Linked DNA regions of Homo sapiens: region 1 is linked to region 2. The links are contacts of gene promoters, found by promoter capture Hi-C in blood cells and fetal thymus (Javierre and others, 2016). All regions are on one chromosome and are shown on one strand. Each heading gives the region's core, a stretch centred on a gene start or on the middle of the fragment in contact. The rest is flanking DNA. Distances are from core to core; before and after follow the strand shown.

What was found. Contacts are between HindIII fragments. The CHiCAGO score rates a contact against its expected background, and 5 or more counts as called.
Region 1: a contact is called between a fragment that was not itself captured here and the fragment with the promoter of TSPYL2 in region 2, in 1 of 17 cell types (monocytes). The highest score is 5.9, in monocytes.

Annotation. Positions count from the first base shown.
Region 1 is chrX:47,674,167-47,677,772 of GRCh38, reverse strand. No RefSeq gene overlaps it. Among named protein-coding and RNA genes, the nearest start is that of UXT, 17 kb to the right of the region's middle. The HindIII fragment of the contact is 2,187 bases long and covers 781-2,967 here.
Region 2 is chrX:53,080,224-53,083,638 of GRCh38, reverse strand. It overlaps TSPYL2 (TSPY like 2), which reads right to left and starts at 1,272. Exons shown (of 7, transcript NM_022117.4): 1 at 334-1,272. The coding sequence starts at 1,140. GPR173 (G protein-coupled receptor 173) reads right to left here. Exons shown (of 2, transcript NM_018969.6): 2 at 3,024-3,415. RefSeq lists silencers at 898-947, 978-1,027, 1,298-1,407. The HindIII fragment of the contact is 18,116 bases long and covers 1-3,415 here.

The sequences.
Region 1 (3,606 bases), core at 625-3,124, 5.4 Mb after region 2:
TATAAGATAGATAAGGAAAATCTGAGCCAGATATTTGTGGTGACAGGAATTATATTTGGCTGAGTGCAGTGGCTCATGTCTGTAACCCCAACACTCTGGGAGGCTGAGGCAGGAGGATTGCTTGAGGCCAGGAGTTCAAGACCAGCCTGGGCAACACGGCAAAATCCTGTCTCTAAAAAAAATTATTTTTTTTAATTAGCCAGGCATGGTGGCATACACTTTTAGTCCTAGCTAATTGAAAGGTAGAGGCAGGAGAATCGCTTGAATCCAGGAGGTAGAGGCTGCAGTAAGCTATGATCATGCCACTGCGCTCCAGCCCAGGTAACAGAGCAAATCCTTGTCTCAAAAATAAGGGAACATTTAACTTTTATAAAAACAAAAAAAATCACCTATGTTAGTAGGAGAATCATTTTAGACAAAATCATTTTAGAAATAACTATTTTTTAAAAATTAGCTGAGTGTGGTGGTATGTGCCTATGGCCCAAGCTACTTGGGAGGCTGAGGTGGGAGGATTGCTTGATCCCAGGAGGTCAAGGCTGCAGTAAGCGGAGATAGCACCACTGCACTCTAGCCTGGGCAACAGAGGGAGACCCTGTCTCTAAAAACGAGAAAAGAAAAGAAAAGGAATGACAACTTTTAACATTAAAGCCTTAAAAAATTTCAGAACATACTAGAATGGGATATGACTTATTCTTTCAGTTGGTTATAGAAAAATAAAACAAAAAAATTATTCCTGTTACGTAATGTAAGGTAACTAAGAAATAAGTAGTGCAGTAAGCTTAAAGTGATGTCTATTTATGTAAGTGTGAATATATTTTAAACACCATCTGACTATGTTTGTCAAGTTACACCAATGGATTAACCACAGATGTCCATGGTAAGGATGCAATATTTCATCTGCTATGAGGGATATTGTATTAGTCCATTTTCACGCTGCTATAAAGAACTGCCTGAGACTGGGTGATTTATAAAGGAAAGAGGTTTAAATAACTCACAGCTCAGCATGGCTGGGAAGGCCTCAGAAAACTTGCAATTATGGCAGAAGGCAAAGGGGAAGCAAGGCACTGTCTTCACGAGGCGGCAGGAAGGAGAAGTGCCAAGTGAAAGGGGAAGATCCCCTTATAAAACCATCAGATCTCGTGAGAACTCACTCACTATCATGAAAACAGCATGGAGGAAACTGCCTCCATGATTCAATTCAATTACCTCCACCTGGTCTCTCCCTTGACACGTGGGGATTATGGGGATTACAATTCAAGATAAGATTTGGGTGGGGAACACAAAGCCTAATTCTAAGAATTAAAGAAAGAGGAAAGAAACATGAAAGGTGGCTCAACAGTCAAGGACAGGTTTATTTTAGAGAAAACAAACCTGACAGGGGATTCTGGCCAAGTTAGATCAGAGCCCACTCTCTTACAGACTAAGAGTTTTTAAAGATTTAGGGTGGGAGAGTTTATCAGAGGCTTGGACTGCTTCTGTGTCTCTTCATTTTGCTTATCTGGGAGGGAGAGTTTTGTGTCTGTTCCCATACATCTTCCTGCAGCTGCAGGCATACCCCCCCAGTCTACTTTTAGCTTCCCTATCTTAGTGCACCTGAAGGGAAAGGAATGTGCTTAGTAAGGCCCACTGTTTCACTGGGGTCCATTGTATGAGGGTGAAGTTCGGCAGTTACCCAGGAGACTTCCCCCCCGCCTCCCTCTGTGCCTGAGCTGTCTTATCTGTGTTTTACTGTCTGCTCTTTTCTGGCTGCTTGTAGTTAGAAAAGAAGTGATTTCCTTGAAATGCATGAGGCTAGAAAGGGAGCTTGAACTTAGAGTGGCGGTGTTTGTCCAAGATGACGGTGCTCCTGCTCTGTCATTAACCATATCAGATATTAAAGAAGAAACACATTTTTTTCTAGAAGTGAGGAAAGAATATTAAACAAAAGTGATAGGCAAAAAAGACAGAGAACGTCATCACTGAAATAAGGGCACCATTAATAGGGAGAGCAATAATAGTACTCACTTATTGCTGCTTCAAACCATTATCTTCTATTGTTGGGAATAATGCAATAACCATTCTTATGTGTCACAATCATCACATATATACAAATACACATGTGAAAATACAGATACTGCATGGTGACTAAGCATGTTTGGAATAAATCAAGAGTCTAAGTCACGACATACATAAATCATTTATATCTAAACTGCTAATTCAAGACAGGCAGCGTGGTGTAATGGTTAAGAACATGAATGCTGGAGCCAGATATGTATTCAAATCCTGCCCCTTAATGGTTTCTCAGATATGGCACAAAAAGTACACATAAAGAACCCTTACACTTTGCTAAAACAAAATAAATAAATAACCCAACTAAAAAATGGGCAAAGGCTGGGAGCAGTGGCTCACGCCTGTAATCCCAGCACTTTGGGAGGCTGAAGCGGGCGGATCACCTGAGGTCAGGAGTTTGAAACCAGCCTGGCCAATATGGCAAAACCCCATCTCTACTAAAAATACAAAAATTGCCCAGGCGTGGTGGTGCATGCCTGTAATCCTAGCTACTTGGGAGGCTGAGGCAGGAGAATGGCTTGAACCAGGGAGGCGGAGGTTGCAGTAAGCCGAGATTGCGCCACTGCACTCCAGCCTGAGCAACAGAGCAAGACTCCGTCTTAAAAAATAAACAAACAAATAAATAAATAAATATACTGCTAATTCATACTGGTACACATTTTTGTGAAACATACTAACACTTTTTAAGTGATGCAATCAAAACTCTAGTTACAAGGAAGGGAGAGACATCTGGAAAGGTTGACTAAGGAGCTTGGCAATCCTCTCCACAAAACGCCATGACAAAAGTGGACAAAATTGCCAAAAACAACCAGTTAAAGACTCTGGAAATTTACCAAGGTAATATAACAAATTGGGAAGTGGTTATTCAAGAAAAACTACTGAGGCTTGGAAGCAGAGCAAGATGGCCAAATAGAAGCTTCCACTGATTGTCCCCCGACAGGAACACCAAATTGAACAACTACACACACAGAAAACCACCTTCATAAGAACCAAAAAGCAGGTAAGCAGTCACAGTACTTGGTTTTAATATTATTTTAAGGAAAGAGGCACTAAAGAAGGTAGGAAAGACAGTCTTGAATCACCTACACTACCCTTCCCTCACCATCTGGCAGTGGCCATGTGGTGCAGAGAGAGAATCTGTGTGCTTGAGGAAGGGAGAACACAGTGAATGTGGGACTTTGCATTGGAACTCAGTGCTGCCGTGTCACAGCGAAAAGCAACATGGGGCAGAACTCAGCTGGCGTCTATGGAGGGAGCATTTAGATGAGCCCTAACCAGATGACATCCATCCCAGCAATCAAAACCTGAGTTCCAGCAAGCTCTGCCATCACTGGCTAAAATACTCTGAGGTTCCTATTTCTCCACAGCCTCACCAGCATCTATTGTTTCTTGACTTTTTAGTAATCACCATTCTGACTGGCGTGAGATGGCATCTCATTATGGTTTTGATTTGCATTTCTCTAATGATCATTGATATGGAGCTTTTTTTCATATTTTTGTTGGCCACGTAAATGTCTTCTTTTGAGAAGTGTCTGTTCATATCCTTTGCCCACTTTT
Region 2 (3,415 bases), core at 23-2,522:
TTTTTGCTGTGTGCCCCTTTACTACCCTCCCCCTTTTTATCATCTGTGATCCTTTTTTTAATGCTATGTTCCTCCTCTTCCCCCTTTCCCATCTGTGGTCCAGTTTTTATGTCCGCCCCCCCTCCACCACCCTTCATCATCTCCAGTCCAGCTTCTCTGCTGTTTTGCCCTCCTCCTTCCATCCCTCTTCCACCCAGTCTAGTCCGTCTTCCGATAGGGGGATCATGCCCACCTCTGGCTCTCCTCCACCCGCTTTACCTTTTCTGTCCCTCCCCCACCTTCCCCTTTCCTGTCACGGGCTTCTGACCTACGGAGTATCGATTAGAAGGATACTGCTTTGACCCAGAAGCCTGGGATATGCTGGATGATGAGGTCTCTGCGCTCCAGGAAGGGTCTTCGCATCTGGATGAACTTGCGCTTGAGACGCAGGAAGGCTTTGCCTGCCTTGATGTTCACTGCCTCCAGATCCAGCTGAATATCCTCCAGTGCCTGCAGGATGCTCTCCATCCTCTCGGCATTTCTCTCTCTGCTTTCCCTCTTCACCTTCCTCTGCTTCCTCCTCCGCCGCCGCCGCCGCCTCCTGCTGCTCCTCATACTCTCCCGCTCATCCTCATCCTCATCCTCCACTATGATGATCGCCTCTTCCTTGCTCTTCGGGTCAACTAACCTCTGGGGCGCCCACCCCACTGCGCTACAGGTTTCTAGGGCCCCCTCTCCACCAAAACTGCTCGACTGTACAACCTGAAAATCGATTTCCAGGCTCCCCCCCGAGGCCTCAGGAGTGGGGAGTGCTTCCAGGCTCTCCGTGGGCGGGGGCGCCTCCCCATACCCCGACTCGATGGTAGAATCCCAGCCGGGACACTCAGCACCGAGCGTGAAGTATGCGCGGATCCCCCCCTCCTCGAGAATGACATAGGGAGGCGGCGGGGGCAGCGCGGGGCCCAGTCCCACCCCCCTCATATCGGCCAGCACCTGTGCCGCCTCCGTTTCCTCCTGGAGCCTCGGGCGCTGCTGGGGTGGAGGCAGCGGCAGTCGGAGGAGCGGCGGCGGCGGCGGCGGCGGGGGCGGGTCGCGCTGTGGAGACTCGGAGCTGCTCAGGCGGCGGGTCTTGGCCGGAGGCCCCTCATCTGGGCGGTCCATGGCGACCGCGTTCGTACAGCTCAGGGGACTCGCACTCGCCCCTTCGCTTTTAGCCGCGTCGCTGCCGCTAGTCGCACCGGTAAGCAGAGCTGAGGAGACTCACGCAACCAGCTCTCCTCACCACCTCGCTCTGGCGTTCCCTCCCACAGCGCCCGCTCTACTCCCTCCGCGCCAATCGCCGAAGCCCCGCCCACTCCTGACGCAGGGGTCCGCTCGGCCTGGCCATTGGCTGCCGGCCGCCGCGGCGGCGATCGCGCTCCCGCGACCCCTGCCCGCTCTCACGCAATCCGCTTGCCAACACCACACATCATCAGTTTCCGATTGGCTCCCCTCGGGCCCGCCAATCAACGGGCTGACTCCCTCAGCGACGGGAGGGAAACTGCAGGGCGATTGGCTGCGAGGAAAGCTGGGGAAGAAGCCCCTCTCCCTCACCCTCTCAGCGTTTTATCCAATGGGAAAAGTACCAGTGGTTCTGAAGACCAAAAAACGAGACGAAAAACAAACGCAGGCGCTGAGCAGGATGTGCTCACATGAAATTGGAAGAGCCTCGTTATCGTTCCCCCCGCCCCCCTCCCCTCAGCAACTACGCACTTTTAAAATCTGCCCCTTCCCCCATTTCCTTCAGCTCCTTCCCCCACCCCCGCTTCTGCCCCTTCCCCCATCCCGGGTCCTGCCCCTTCCCCCATCCCAGCTCCTGCCCCTTCTCCCACCCCCGCTTCTGCCCCTTCTCCCATCCCCCACTGCTGCCCCTTTTTCCATCCCCGCTTCTGCCCCTTCCTCCACTCCCCGTTTCTGTCCCTTCCCCCACCCCCCGTTTCTGCCCCTTCCCCCATCCCCCGCTTCGGCCCCTTCCCCCACCCCACCCCCGCTTCTGCCCCTTCACCCCCCGCTTCTGCCCCTTCCTCCCCCGCTTCTGCCCCTTCCCTCACCCCCCCTTCTGCCCCTTCCCGCATTCCCTGCTTCTGACCCCCATCCCCCAACTGTCTCTTCCCTCACCCCCACTTCTGCCCCTTCCCCTATCCCCCAACTTCTGCCCCTTCCTTCACCCCCCAACCCCACTTCTGCCCCTTCCCTCACCCTCCCGCCCTCCGCTTCTGCCCTTCCCCTATCCCCCAACTTCTGCCCCTTCCCTCACACAACCCCTGCCCCCCGCCCCCCCGCTTCTGCCTCTTTTCCTACCTTCCACTTCTGCCCCTTCCCCCACCCCCCACGTTTGCCCCCTGGGTGAACTCTGCTGTAGCTCCTCGGGGGCTCGGGCTGCCCTACCGCCTGCGCCTGCAATTTAGGCACCCAGGGTGTTTGGTTTGGGGGCCAGGTTTTGACGTGGCGTTTTCCATCTCCGCAAAATGGCTCTACAAATAATAATCACACACACAAAAAAGTAACTTCCTCTGCGTCATAAAAATGATTGTGATTCAGCTCATCTGCTAGAATTTTCTAGCACTTTCTGTCTCTTCATTTCTCCCCCTTTCCATCCTTTCCTCTCCCTTTCCCCAGTGTATGCTGTATTTTAAGATTTTTCTTTTTAAACCAGAGATGGATGGTCTTTTGTGAGGCATGGTGGTGGAGGGCTGGCTTTGGTGCTGGGATTCACATCATGGGTGTGCCCCTCATTTTGTAACCTTAACCAAATCACTGCCCCTCTCTGAGCTTCAGTTTTCTCTCCCCTAAATTAGGCATCCCTCAAGAGAGGTGTAGGTAACTGCCCATTGCAGCCTTGTCGCGGAGCAGAGAGGAGACCTAGGGATCCATCATCAGGGGAGTGGATAAGAAAAATGTGATATATGTTTTAGATGGACCACTAGAATGAATTAGATCTATATACGGCAACATGGCTGGATCTCTCAAAGACAGAATGTTGAGTGAAAAAAGAAACAACAAGATTTATAGTACAATACTGTTTATGTAAATTAAAACACACAGCAATACCATACATTTTTCACAGATACACATATATGTAAATAAACACATGAACGGTGGATTGGAAGGACGTACGTTAAATACACGAGAGTGGGTGCCTGTGTAGGGGGCGGGGAGGATGGGATCAGGAATGGGTGATGAAGGGGACAAAACTGAAGAAAAAAAAATAAAAGGGCCTCACATGGACCAATGATGATATAGTGTGCCAAGAACTGAGGAGTATGGTCAACTCAATTCTGTGCACCTGAGAGAATAACCAGATAGTAAATTAACTGTCTAGGGAGCAGGCTGGCTGGGTAGACTCCTGGGCTTGGGTTTTTTTTCCCCATGACATCCCTCCCTCTAAATTTGGTCA